Regions from separate parts of the Homo sapiens genome. Here regions 2, 3 and 4 are each linked to region 1. The links are contacts of gene promoters, found by promoter capture Hi-C in blood cells and fetal thymus (Javierre and others, 2016). All regions are on one chromosome and are shown on one strand. Each heading gives the region's core, a stretch centred on a gene start or on the middle of the fragment in contact. The rest is flanking DNA. Distances are from core to core; before and after follow the strand shown. Region 1 holds the start of KCNAB1-AS1 (KCNAB1 antisense RNA 1). Region 2 overlaps KCNAB1 (potassium voltage-gated channel subfamily A regulatory beta subunit 1). Region 3 overlaps KCNAB1 (potassium voltage-gated channel subfamily A regulatory beta subunit 1). Region 4 has its middle 87 kb from the start of KCNAB1.

Evidence for each region. Contacts are between HindIII fragments. The CHiCAGO score rates a contact against its expected background, and 5 or more counts as called.
Region 2: a contact is called between a fragment that was not itself captured here and the fragment with the promoter of KCNAB1-AS1 in region 1, in 6 of 17 cell types (endothelial precursors, M1 macrophages, megakaryocytes and 3 more). The highest score is 14.2, in endothelial precursors.
Region 3: a fragment that was not itself captured here is called in contact with the fragment with the promoter of KCNAB1-AS1 in region 1 in 1 of 17 cell types (M0 macrophages); the score reaches 5.1 in M0 macrophages.
Region 4: a contact is called between a fragment that was not itself captured here and the fragment with the promoter of KCNAB1-AS1 in region 1, in 1 of 17 cell types (megakaryocytes). The highest score is 5.2, in megakaryocytes.

Annotation. Positions count from the first base shown.
Region 1 is chr3:156,445,330-156,448,913 of GRCh38, forward strand. It overlaps KCNAB1-AS1 (KCNAB1 antisense RNA 1), which reads right to left and starts at 1,607. Exons shown (of 3, transcript NR_046618.2): 1 at 1,456-1,607; 2 at 705-767. All of the region lies in intron 2 of KCNAB1 (potassium voltage-gated channel subfamily A regulatory beta subunit 1), which reads left to right. The HindIII fragment of the contact is 8,289 bases long and covers 1-3,584 here.
Region 2 is chr3:156,172,218-156,175,511 of GRCh38, forward strand. All of the region lies in intron 1 of KCNAB1 (potassium voltage-gated channel subfamily A regulatory beta subunit 1), which reads left to right. It also overlaps the pseudogene SNRNP40P1. Among named protein-coding and RNA genes, the nearest start is that of KCNAB1, 53 kb to the left of the region's middle. The HindIII fragment of the contact is 4,531 bases long and covers 1-3,294 here.
Region 3 is chr3:156,130,265-156,133,778 of GRCh38, forward strand. All of the region lies in intron 1 of KCNAB1 (potassium voltage-gated channel subfamily A regulatory beta subunit 1), which reads left to right. Among named protein-coding and RNA genes, the nearest start is that of KCNAB1, 11 kb to the left of the region's middle. The HindIII fragment of the contact is 4,522 bases long and covers 1-3,514 here.
Region 4 is chr3:156,031,493-156,034,923 of GRCh38, forward strand. It overlaps the pseudogene VN2R1P. Among named protein-coding and RNA genes, the nearest start is that of KCNAB1, 87 kb to the right of the region's middle. The HindIII fragment of the contact is 767 bases long and covers 1,228-1,994 here.

The DNA.
Region 1 (3,584 bases), core at 357-2,856:
GGATGAGATGCTACCGGTATGAGAAGAATATAAACTGTGGTTCTCAACCCTGACTGCAATTAGAGTTATCTGAGGATCTTTTAAAAATACTGATGCCAGGATTCCACTCCCAGAAATTCTGATTTCACTGGGGTGTGGTGAGGAATCAGGTCAGCAATACCATTTATATCCCCCCAGGATATTCAAATGCGCAGTTGTGGTTAAAAACCTCTTGTTGAAGATAGTGAGGAAAACAACCAACGTTCCACAAATGCTCTCTGGTTAGAGACACTTTCTTAGTAAGGGTGAGAATGCTTACTGATTGAACAAGCAATTATTACTCACTTACCCTGTGCCAGGCTCCAGTGCAATGGCTAAAATTTAAAATTTAAATTAAACTTAAACTTAGTCCCTGATCTCAGGATAGTTGCAGTCTAATGAGGAAGTCACAGCCAAAAATAAACTATGCGGTTACAATATAGTGTGGTCAATATGGTAATAGCAGTTAGTTCAAAATGGTAGGAGAAGAGTAAATGGAATGACTTCTTCTCCTTTCAAAGAAACCATAGAATCATGAAATAATAGAGATGAAGGAAGCTCAAGGTTCCTAATTTTGTGCATAAGGAAACAAGAAATCAAGAGATTGGAGGTTTCTCAGAGTCACAGAGTTAATGCAAGAGAACCTAAAAAATTCTAATGATGTAGCAAGACATACTTTAACTCACCAGGGGAAGTGCTAAGAAACTATGGCTTAGCAGCACTGGACTCTGAAGCTGGAGTTCTGGGTCCTGAAAAATAAGTAGAATTTGGACATAAAGGCATGGGGAAGGTTTAGATTTTCAGTGGAAGGCTCAGCCCATAGCTCAAAGGAGAACATGCTCACCAGGGTAATGACCTGGAGCTTAAGGATCTCAGGTGGTGGCCAACAGCTTAGGGCTCCCTCCTCCACATCAACTCTAGTTTTGGGCTTACACCTATTTCTTGCTGGATACGCAATTTAGAGGGATGCTCCCACCTCCAGTTCCACTCCTCTTTGGGGGTTATACTATACAACTGAGACATTGAACATGTTAATTTTACCTGGTGTATTGCTTAATTTCAATGTGACCTAGGGTTTGAACCTCTTATCTTAAATTCTTTAGTGACGTAACAGATTAACACCTCAAAATAGATGAAATGTCTCTCAATTATGACTACATTTGGTCAGTCTTGACTATATTAAGCTGCAGTTCACATGTGCTCTGTTTACCAAACTTAAAATCATTAAATCTATATTGAAATGTGTTGAATTGGCTCTCCATTCTCCCCATACTCTGACCTTGGTGTTCTCCTAGAGGTTTCACCTTCTCTCACACCCTACACATCCTTTTACACCAGTAAATACTATTGCTTCCCCTTCAAAATTTATCCAAAATTCAACCACTCCTCGCCATCCTCACTACCACCACCTTGGACCAAACCACTGTCATGTCTCACCTGGATTATGGGAACAGCCTCCTAACTGGTCCCCCATGTTTCAGCCTCGCCTCTGCAGTCTATCCTTAGCACAATAGCAGAGTGTTCCTTTTAAAAGAAAGTCAGATTGTGTCACTTCTGTATTCAAAATTATTCACTAGCCTTTCCTAGGTCCTTCCTATGATTGACATGACATGATCTGGCCCCCATGAACCTCACCTTCTCTTCTCTGGCCACACTGGCTTCCTCCTTGTCCTTGCTCATGTTGAGCAAGCCCCTACCTCACTGCTCCCTGCAACTGGAACACTCTCCCTCCAGATAAGCGCCTGGTGAGCCCCTTCACTTTCTTTAGGTCTTTTCTTGAAAGCTCCTTTCTTAGTGAATCTTATCTGGCCACCCTATCTAAAATTTCAATACTGATTCCTAGACATTTCATATACTCTATCCCTGCTTTATAAAATTGATTCTCTAACATTCATCAGTCAACATTATGTATTTTATTTTACATTTTATTTATTTGTAAAATTAACATTTATAAACACTATATATTTAACTTATTTTTGTTATTCCTTTTTCTTTACCCATATATCTGTTTCACGATGGGAGAAATAATTACCAGTTTTGTTCACTGTTGCATCCCAATAAACTAAGTACAACACCTGGCACACGGTAGACTCAATAAATACTTGTTGAATGAAAAAGTGAGGAAATGTTAACTGTGGCATAATAAATATTAATATTATAATTGCATTTACATATTCTCTTCTTGATAGCTATAATAATATATTCAAACCATAGGGAGACCAACCTGCACTATAGAATTTTATAACCTTAAGATGATTTAGACCCAAATTAAGGGACATTCTACAGAATACTTGATGAGTACTTTTAAAAGTGTCTACATCATGAAAGACAGGGAAAGACTGAGGAAGTGTCACATATTGGAGTGGATTAAGAAAACATACAATTAAATGCAATGTTGGATGCTGCTTAAGATCCTGGAAGAGAAAAAAAGACAATGAAATTCCAAAAAGATCTATTGTATTAGTACTGTACCCATGTTAATTCCCTGGTTTTGATAATTGCACTATGGTGATGTAAGATATTAAAATGATCTCATCTAAATGTCTAAATATCCTTTATACTCCAAGCAAGGCAGTCATTTAAATGGTAAACATGTTTTTTGAATGAGTACGCAAGAAGTAATTACCCTGATAATCACCAAACGATAATGAGGTAACCAAGATAGATGTGTGTGGTGGGCAGTTTTCTTCTTTTTACCTTTCATCCATCATTTTTCTGTGCTATGGTAGATTTACTCCAAGGAACCTAACACAGGTTTTCAAAGCAAATATTCCTTGGTCCATAAAGGGGTTTAATCAGAAGACACAAAATAGTTCAAAGAGTTATCTTTATACTCTCCCTTCTTTTAAAAGGTTAGAAATAACAATTGTCAGTTTAGTAAAATCATCTTGTAAATAACATCCCACTAATTTGAGATTACACAGTGAAATAATTGTATGCCATTCTAGGTCTCAGGAAAGCATGTTCTCATTAGAGGGAGAAAAATGGTTAAGAAAACTGTCACAGAGGGTTTTTGAGAATCATATTAACTAACAAGTCACCTTAGTTCTTCTGGAGTGGAGCACAGTGGAAAATAAAATCATAGAAACAGAGTTCTTCTGTCTAGAAGGCTGTTGCCCCGTTCCTCTCCAGCAGGAGGGGATGTGTCCTGTCTGTGAGAGGCAACTCCTCCTCAGGAGTAGAAAGTGGACCCCACCTACACTGGGCCACTTACCCATCTGCTTGCTGGAGGCATTTCAGCCAAGGAGAAAGACTTTCCCTTGGCCTTTTTCCACAAAGGGGCATAGCTGGGTGGGTACCCAGGGATAGGGAGAAACATTTCAATCATCTAGAGACTAGAAGAACTAAAGATTATTGATAAGCATTATTCATTTTTCTATAAGTCATAATAAAGATGTTTGTTTGGTAGGAAATATTCATTTTTCTATAAGTCATAATAAAGATGTTTGTTTGGTAGGAAATTATCCCAAAATTTTAAAGATTAATAACAGTCAACAAGGCAATGTAATTCAATTTAACCAACACTTACTGACCATGTACTAAGAACCCACTTCTATTCTAGGGCT
Region 2 (3,294 bases), core at 655-3,154, 270 kb before region 1:
CAGAGGGACAGCAGAGTTTCATAACAGAATTTTGAAGCCTTGCCTTTCTGCATAATTCAAATGGCTTTTTTTTTTTTTTGGAGACAGAGTCTTGCTTTGTTGCCCAGGCTGGAATGCCATGGTGCAATCTGAGCTCACTGCAACCTCTGCCTCTCAGGCTCAAGCAATTCTCGTGCCTCAGCCTCCTGAGTAGCGGGGACTACAGGCATTCACCACCACACCCAGCTAATTTTTGTACTTTTTTTGGAGACAGGGTTTCGCCATGTTGGCCAGGCTGGTCTCAAACTCCTGACCTTAAGCAATCCACCCTCCTCGGCCTTCCAAAATGCTGGGATTACAGGCGCGAGCCACCACATGCGGCTATCAAACGGCATTTTAAAAAAGGGAATGAGGATGGTGACATGATTGGTTACTTATTCCCAGGTCAGTGGTTAGTGGCAAGTGGCCACTGAGAGTAGATAGGGGCCTTTCTAGATAATTGGAGGTAGTCAGCATGAAGTCACAGAGTAGACAAGACAAGGGGATAAAACCGTAGGCTAAAGGACTGAGATAGGTCCTGGAAAGTCCCAGGGGAATATTGCAGGCAGAGAATACTCTCTGAGCTGGGTTTTGCTAGCCATGGAGAGAGCCCAGGGCATCTAATGCCTTTTAAGCTAGAGCAGTTCCAATCTACCCATGTGGCCCCACACAACTTTGCTAACACCTCTGGATGTAAAGGTCCTTCTGTCATCTGGCAGTTTCTTTCAGAAGCTAGTGTGGGTATTACATTCACTTGTGGACCTTAAACATTTTGCTTCTAGGGAAAGACATGTAAGGCTCATTGAAAGCATCTGGCAAGTGTTTAGAAAAGGCTTCTCCTCTGGAGAGAAAGAAAAGCCTGGAAGAAGATCTGAATGTCGGATGCCTCAAGTCACTGCGGTCAACAGGCAGTGTTGCTGTCTAAGAGGGGCAGGGACCCTGGTCACAAGGCCCTGACACAAAATTGGGTAGAAATTGACTCAGCACTTTTCTTCTTAAGAAGCTCAGCCCTGATTTCACTCTCAGGGCAACAGAACCATTATCAAGATGGCCAGTGAGTTAACCAGGGTGTTTCCGAGATGAGGGAGTGAGGGTGTAATAAGACAATGGGAAGAAGAGGGTCTAAAAAAACACACAAAAAATCACCATCTGTAAGTGAAACTCTTCCTAGTTTTAACTACTTAGTTATAAATGTTAAACACACTGGAAATGGGTTATGAATCATCCAGGTAATAAGAGCAATTACTGTCCAGTGGTCAGTAGGAAAGAAAATAGCATAGTTCATCTGGGTTTTACTTCCAGGTCTATCCAATTGTCAGTGGGAGTCTCAGTCAAGCCCCTTAACCTCTCTGGGGACCTCAGTTTCCCCATCTTTAAATGACAGCATTTATTCTAAGTTCTTATCCAGTATTATTAACACTCTATGTAACAAAAAAATGCAACAAATTGTATGCGATGGTTAATTTTATATGTCAACTTGACAGGGCCACAGGGTGCCCAGATGTTTGTTTCAATGTTATTTCTGGGTGTGTCTGTAAGGGTGTTTCCAATGAGATCAGCATTTGTACCAGAGGACTGTGTGAAGCAGATTGCCCTTCCTGATGTGAGTGGCCATCATCCAATCAGTTGAGGACCTGAATAGAACAAAAGATGGAGGAAGGCAGAATTCACTCTCTTTGCCCAATTGATTCAATTGATTGAGCTGGGACGTTGGCCTTCTGCCCTCAGACAGTGACATATACCATTGGCTCTCCTGGTCCTCAGGCCTTCAGACTCGTACTGGAACAACACCACCAACTTTCCTGAGTCTCCAGCTTGCAGACTACCGATTATGGGACTTTTAAGCCTCTATAATCATATGAACAAATTCCTTGTAATGATCTCTTTATGTTTACCTCCTATTAGTTCTGGTTCTCTAGAGAACTCTAATACATTCTACATTTGGGGACAAAGATATTGCTCAAGGCTAGCCTTCTTATCTCCAGTTTTACTCAAAATAATTTTAGGAATTAAATACTTGGTATTTTCTCTCTTTGTTCCCTTCAAGCAATAATTAATTTTTAGTGGTTTGTTCTTGGGTAGGAATTAGAAACATTATGTAGCTGACAGAGGGCTACATGCAGAGCTTATAAGGAGGAGCTGCTTTCTGCAGCCAGTTTCTTGATGAGAATTCAGCAGGAGGAGCTCTTTAGCTGTGTGAACATCCATCAGAAGGGTAGGTAGTTAGCAGGATCTACAGTATTCAGCAAAATAAAATTCTCCCAGCAGAGAATGCCATGCTTCTTTACTCATTAAGGAATGGGTGAGCCCTTCCCTGACACCCTGACTGTTCCAGCCTGTAGTCAAAGTATCAATGGGAAATCAGGGACCCACATACCTACCAAGTCCTTTTTTAGGTCTTTTCTTTAAAGCTGGTTAGTTATCCCATACATCAGTGTGCCCGAGGTCGAGAAGAGCTGGAGGGGCTGATATTTAGCCAATGTGGTCGCTTCCACAGGCCCTCTTATTCTCATAGCAGCTCAGCCTCCCATCAGGAGGCATGGAGCCACCAACGCAGGGGTCTAAAAAGGTACCAGGAAGACTGGGCTTGGGCTGCCAATGAGGGTGCATCTGCCAGTGAGCTTTCACTTTTAGAAGATATGGCAGCTTCTAGCTAACTTTACCAGATGCTAGTTGTTGAACTCTTCCTCAAGTCTACAAGTGGAATTCTTCAGGGAAACATGGTGTTTCTCTGGCTGCCACAATATTTATTTATTTACCTACTCAACTATTTGGTGGAGAACCTCACAGGGCTTAGAGTGGTCTCAGCCAAATTGTCAGCTCATGAGGCTTCTGATCTGTTGCAGTGAGTTTGGATTTTTACCCCTCTGGACTGTCATCAACAGAAAACAGAGGTGCTTTGGGTTTGTTTGCTTTTTATTTTTTAAGGCTTTTAATACAAATGTTTTTAATACAAAATCACTTAGAGAAATACAGAAAGAAAATATCCTACAAGCCAGTTACTAAATAAAAAAAAAATCCCAACCAGCAAATTTGTCACATTGGGCAGGCATTAGAAAACAGGAAAAAAGAAAAAGAAAAAATAAAATACAACGTCCCTGAAGGCCGGGCACGGTGGCTCATGCCTGTAATCCCAGCACTTTGGGAGGCCGAGGCGGGTGGATCACAAGGTCAGGAGATCGAGACCATCCTGGCTAACACAGTGAAACCCTGTCTCTACTGAAAATACAAAAAATTAGCCGAGTGTGCTGGCAGGTGCCTGTAGTCCCAGCTACT
Region 3 (3,514 bases), core at 550-3,049, 310 kb before region 1:
CTTAAGAGCATGGTTACCCCAATCTGTTTTTCTAGTAAAAATAGGTGTAGATGTAGCCTTCATTCCTTCATTCCTTGACCTTGAACAAGCCTTCCTGGGTGAGCTGACCAAAGTCTATGACATCTGCCTTCTTTTCCTAATATCAACAACTGTTTATTGAATATTTATTATATAGCTAGCACATTCCTTAGATATTCCATTGATTCCTTCCCAATGATCCATGTGCATGTGATGCCTATTTTTATGATCTTCACTTTGTGGAAGGAAATTGAGCCTTAAAAATGATCCTGCCCAATGTTAGCCAGTTAAGCATGTGATAAAGCCAGTACTTGAATCTGGAGACTCAGGCTGCAGACTGCAGATGCACATCTCAACTCAACAGAATGGCTCCCTGCCCTAGTTTGGGTTGATTATTGATCACTACAAAGATGTCATTTTAGTAATTTCACTTTTCACCTTCACTTTCCACCACACTATAAGGTTCTGTAACTCGGGATGTGGCAGTCATGTCTTCCCCTCCCATTTGAAGTCTTTGCTTCTTGTCCTGCACCTGTCTATCAAAAGGCTGGGAGGCTGGAATGTTGGGAAGTCACTTAGGTGGATAGCAAAGGGTTGTGTCATAGGATGAACTATGGATTTTTATGTTTCCTCAGGCTTTTCTCCCACAGAAACTGTTTCCATCGAAAGAGCTGTGTAAGTGCAGAGGCCTGAGGAGGCACCCAAGTGACATCCCTTATTAGATAAATTTAATTCAATTTCAGAATTTGAGTTTAAGTCAGGCTTTGGCCATCTCCTTCTCATCCTAGCTCTGAGAGCTAGACAGCAATAGCTGCCCAGGTCTTTCAAATTGTAGACTGTGGTTGTCACTGAATGGCATGTGCTAATGTCCTGCCAGGGATTTTTACCATTGTATTGTGTGTTTTTGCTGCATGGGAGGAGGAAACAACACGGTTTTGAGGAGCACTTACTCATATTTCTTTGGAGATGGCAGTTGAAACAACAGCTTTCCCCAACAGCCTCCCCAGGTATGTGAAATGTCGTCAGATGTCAGTTTTAGAGAAAAATCTCCATTCCATGGCAAAATAAATTAGGAGCTTTTTGTGCATTTTTGGTACACACATTGTGACCTAATTTCAAAAAGAAACTTGCCAAATATTTTTTCAGTCTCCAAAAAATTAAACTAGGCTTCCCGCCAGATATCTGGCTCTGGTTCCCAATCCAGGAACGGCTCCCAAATGCTGATTGTGAATAGGCTGTAGGTGAATGCCTTTTACAAAATAAAGTGCATTGTTTTTATTAAAGGTAACCCTAGCTGCAAAATCCTGAAACCTTAATACCTTGAAATCAGAAAGTTTATTTCAAGCTGAGTACAGTGGTGGCTGACAATGGTAGTCCTAGCTACTCAGGAAGCAGATGTGGGAGGATTACTTGAGACCAGGAGTTTGAGACCAGCCTGGACAGCACAGTGAGACCTTGTTTCAAAAAAGAGAAAGTTTGTTTCTTACTTATGCAAGTCCGACCAGGGGTGGGAAGGGTCCAGTCAGGTGGGACTTGGGCTGATGAAAATTCTGTCATCTTCATCTTTTGTTTTCTAAGCTGGGCCATAGCTGAGCATTGACATGGATCAAGAGAGGAGTATGGGAGGAGCAGGTGGAGGCCCCATTTTGTGGGCCAGACCTGTAAGTGGTATCTGCAGGCAGAGGCAACATTGACTGGAATTCAGCCACATGACCACATTCAACTGCAAAGAAGGCTGGGAATTGTAGTTATAAATGTATGCCTTAGAAGGAAGAGAAGTGGGCATGGTGAATCCCAGGTCTGTTTCTGCCACAGAGCTGTGCTTGAAACAGGGTTAGGGAGCTTCTAAGGTAGAGTTTGGCTATTTTCCATAACATGGAGAGACCAAGGTATTCCTTTACTTTCAATGTTATTCCCCTTGTTCAAACTGGACCCCTTGACCTGACCTTTCCTGAGCCACATGGTGGGTCAATCTCTTCTGGCTTCTTTGTTTGGATCTCAACTTTCCTGTTTCACTGAGAAGGCTGAGGACACTTCAGAGACCTGTAGATGGTCATCTGATATCCACCTGGCAGTGGAACACTGATAAAGTAAGCAGCCTTCCTTATGTCAGTCTATGAGCATCAGCTCTCATTTTGAACCTGTCAGAGTGTTTCTCATTGCCTTGAGACTCACTTACGGCTGGATGAGGCTCTTGGCAGCTCATGTGTTATTCCTCCCCCATTCCATTGTGAGATGGAGTTGCTGCAAGGCCATCCCTTTCCATGGTAACAGCCACAGACTCTGGTGCCACAGACATGGGCTGATGTCTCAGGAGGCAGGATCAGGCACATGGAAACAAGGGTCAGGGAGCACTTGTGGAGAGCCAGGAGAGCTCACTAATTCAGTCTGTTATTTCAGAATAGATAAGGTGTGTGTTTTTAAGGGGAGCTTCTACAACATTGTGTTCATTTAAACAGTGTAATCATTACACATGTTTTTCTATAATGTACCTCCAGGATTCATAACAACAGACAAGATAATCACTTTGCTCCCAGAAGCAGGAGACAGTGTGGTTTTGAATGTAATGTTGTTAAATAAAATTGCATATCCTCAATGATATTCTGGCATTCTTCTCTGAGTCACTATCCTCAGTCAAGGTATATATACATTTTTGTGCAGAATTAATGAGGAATTTGGAGAATAATAGGTTAAGAAAATATGGTTTGTATACAAGAGACTTTTTATTACAAATATCTCCAATTTGAAATATTTCCTTAAAAAATCAAAGCCTAAGGTACATTTCGTAGCTTAGTCTTCATATTTAATTTGATTACAGCAATGGACATTAAGTATGAAACAAGCTGTCCAAAGGGCTGTTGAATTATTTAATTACCTCTGGGATTTAGGAGGTGAGAGTCAGCATAAACAATTCCACAAGTGGGATGTGTTAGAAAGATCAGCTCTTTCTGTCTCAAGCCTAGTAATTTGAACGATGTGACTATCCAAACACCAGTTGCTGTTGAACAAAATATTAAATGCTTAAATCTGTTTGCAATATTTTACTTTCCAGATGGTCATTTATCCAAAAGCAGTACTGAATGTGTTTTAAAAGTATTTTCAGTTAAATGAATTTTCAATGAGGTTAACATTCAGAATTAGTTTTTTAAAAAGGAAAAAATATACTTACATTTAAGGACATTCTTTTATTACCATATATGTAACATTGAAATAGTTTCTAACAATCAAACTAGAAAATTAAACAGAATTTATTAAGGAAGTTTGAGCATCTACCATGTTCCAGTTCTGAGGATACAGGGATGCAGAGTCAGGGCTTCTTGCCCTGAATGATCCTGGAGTCTGTTCAGGGAAGACAACACTACAGTCAAGTTTTTTTGGTGTGATATTAGAAGTGTGAAGGAAATGCTATAAAATTCAGGTAAAAGGGTGATTAGTTATGCCGGGAGGCAGGGAGACAGGGAAGAGAAGCATCAGGAAAAAATACACTTAAGATGCA
Region 4 (3,431 bases), core at 361-2,860, 410 kb before region 1:
CCAGGATAGATGTGATGGAGGTGGCAAAAAGTCATTAGATTCTGGATATCTTATGGATATCTTATAGGTAGAAGACATCAAATCTGCTGACGGATTGGACCTGGAAGTGTTACATGAAACAATTAGAGGACAATACAAATAATGATTTAAGTCATAATGGTAAACTGAGTCTGGTGGTTGGTGAGAAGGTGGACTTGAGTGGAAGAGAGGGTCCATACAGGCAAGTAATATCAGGTTGGAGATGATGGATAGGAATGGTGGTGTTGATGACAGAAATGAGGAATAGGGTTTATGGGATAGTTTTGTACGTGTTGAACTTGAGGTGATGGTGGAATCTTAATGTAGGAACATATGGGAAGTTTAGAATATGGAATTAAATAGAGATCAGGTGGGAAAGGTTGGTGTTAGAGATCAAAATTTGGGAGTACTTCTATAGAGATACTGGTTGAAGACAAGAGAATGAAGGACCTGCTTTACAGTAAGAGAGAAAACCAGAGGACCAAGGACCAAACCCAGGACCCAAGGGAAGCCAAGGTAGCTTGCGTTTCAAAGAGGGGCTGATCAAAAGTGTCAAGTATTGAAGAAAGCTGAAGGAAAATGTGGCCAGAGGAAAATCTCTCAGACATGGCAAGAAGAGTTTTAGTGAGGTGAGTGAGTTGGCAGCTAGATCACAGAGGTTGAGAAGGGAAGGAATACTGAGAAATGGAACAAAAAGGTATCAGCTCATTGTTAATGATACTAATGGGCCAGGTGCCGTGGCTCGCGCCTGTAATCCCAGCACTTTGGGAGGCCGAGGCAGGTGGATCACAAGGTCAGAAATTCGAGACCATCTTGGCTAACACGGTGAAACCCCGTTTCTACTAAAAATACAAAAAATTAGCTGGGTGTGGTGGTGGGCACCTGTAGTCCCAGCTACTCGGGAGGCTGAGGCAGGAGAATGGCATGAACCCGGGAGGCGGAGCTTGCAGTGAGCCGAGATGGTGCCACTGCACTCCAGCCTGGGCAACAGAGGAAAAAAAAATGATAATAGTAATCATAAGGTAATATCGAGAGTTCTTTCCAGAAGACTGGATCAGAGCAAGGAATTCTAGTTCATTCTGTGATGATTTTATTGTTCATCTTTCAGAATTTGAGAATGCCTTGCTATCACTCCTTCCTGTAATAGCTACTCCTTAAGGTGCATTTAAAATATGATTTTACAGATACATATGTATAAAACATATAAGAAGCTTATCTATTGTGTATACATACTTCTGTAATGTTATGTACCATAACCTAGCTCAGAGATTGGTAATATTTTCTATGTTATTTAATTCAGATTTACTCTGGAAAACTCAACATATGAAAATTCTGATTTCTAAAATAAATATAAGTGTAATCATGCATCTTCCAAAATGATTCTTTGCTTAATGGAAAAGCATTTTGTTTCTTAAACAGGAAACTCCCTAATGGATTAAGAAACAAACTATTTACAAACCTTGCATTTATTCTGGGTTTCAAGGTACACATCCATGTAGAATGTAAAAGGAGGCCTGTGTTTACTACTGAGATTTTGAAATTCGTTTAGCAAGAAAATATTTCAATGCTATGCCTTGTCTGCTTTTCCTTTTGCCCTCCCCATTTTTCTGATAAATCAGATCTTTCACTGTTCTTTTCTACTGACCCTTCATGACACAGCTTTGATTTTAAGACTACTTTGGGATGACCTTGCAGAGGGAAAATATTTTTTAGGCTTTCAAGATGATTCTTGGAATCATAGGTCCTTCACAAGCAGGAACAGACCTGTCAAATGATCTCATCCCCAGAGTCCTGTAGGCATGGAGCCTGGTCTGGATCCCCAAGGTTAGAAAGAAGAGGCTTAGAATTAGCTTTGCATTTCTAGACTTAACACCGAGACTCTCCTTTAGCAAAATTCTTCTCTACGTTCTCCATGTTGTTATTTTCTTTGTTCATTATCTTCACTCAGGCATCCTGGGTTTCCCAGGAAATCGCAAAGCTTCCATGGAAATTCAAATGGAAACTTTCTCAGCCTCATGAGTACTAGAGACAAAGGGCTTTGTTAATACATCATGTTTGTCTTTGCTAGCTTCCCCATTCAGTGTGTACTGATGTGTGTCCTCCTGGGACTCGGAAGGGGATTCGTTCAGAGGGAACCAATATGCTGCTTTGACTCCATCCCATGTGCTGATGGACACGTGTCACGGAAACCAGGTTGAGATGGTAATTTCTTCATTGATATGAGGATGCTATTAGATCAAACATGTTTTTGCAAAGAAGGCCTAAGGAGCCTTCTTTATAAATAGGTATGAATAACTTATAACAAAAATAATTAAAATCCATCAAATTATTGGATGTTTTGTGCACTGTGAAAAAAACATAGTATTGTGTTTCAGTTCTAAAGCTGCTACAGTTGGGAAAATACCTACAACCTTGAAGTTAATAGAGGAAAATGCAAAATAAAATATATGAAATGTGAAATATGAGTAGGATTCATAAAAAATATTTAAAATTATTTGTTTCTGAAATAAATTAAATGCTAGTTATATTCATAATTGGAAGACAGGGGACTTATAGTACTATGTTTTATTGAATTAGCTCTAATTTGGAGTTATAAGATCTAAAATTTCATCTCTAAAGGCAATTGGCTTAAGGTCATAAGTACTCAAAGTTTGTAAGACATATGATTTCTGTAACTACTGCTCTATGAATTCTTCACTATGGCCTGCCAAATTGCTGCTCTTTATGACCAGAATTTTAATTGGGTTTAGTGTGCTCGGTCTTGTGAAACATGTTGGAGCAGGTTTATTTTTATCTCTACCTTCTGTTAAAGATAACACAAAGTGTACTTGTCTTTTGTCAAATGGCCCTCAATAGCAATTCTTTTCTTTTTTTTTTTTTTTTTGAGACGGAGTCTCGCTCTGTCGCCCAGGCGGGACTGCGGACTGCAGTGGCGCAATCTCGGCTCACTGCAAGCTCCGCTTCCCGGGTTCACGCCATTCTCCTGCCTCAGCCTCCCGAGTAGCTGGGACTACAGGCGCCCGCCACCGCGCCCGGCTAATTTTTTTTGTATTTTTAGTAGAGACGGGGTTTCACCTTGTTAGCCAGGATGGTCTCGATCTCCTGACCTCATGATCCACCCGCCTCGGCCTCCCAAAGCAATTCTTTATAAAAGAATTTTGAGGGCCAGGCGCAGTGGCTCACGCCTGTAATCCCAGCACTTTAGGAGGCCGAGGAGGGCGGACACGAGGTCAGGAGATTGAGACCATCCTGGCTAACACGGTGAAACCCCGTTCTCTACTAAAAAAATACAAAAAATTACCGGGCGCGGTGGCAGGCGCCTGTGTCCCAGCTACTCGGGAGGCTGAGGCAGAAGAATGGTGTGAACTCGAGAGGCGGAGCTTGCATTGAGCTGAGATGGCGCCACTGCACTC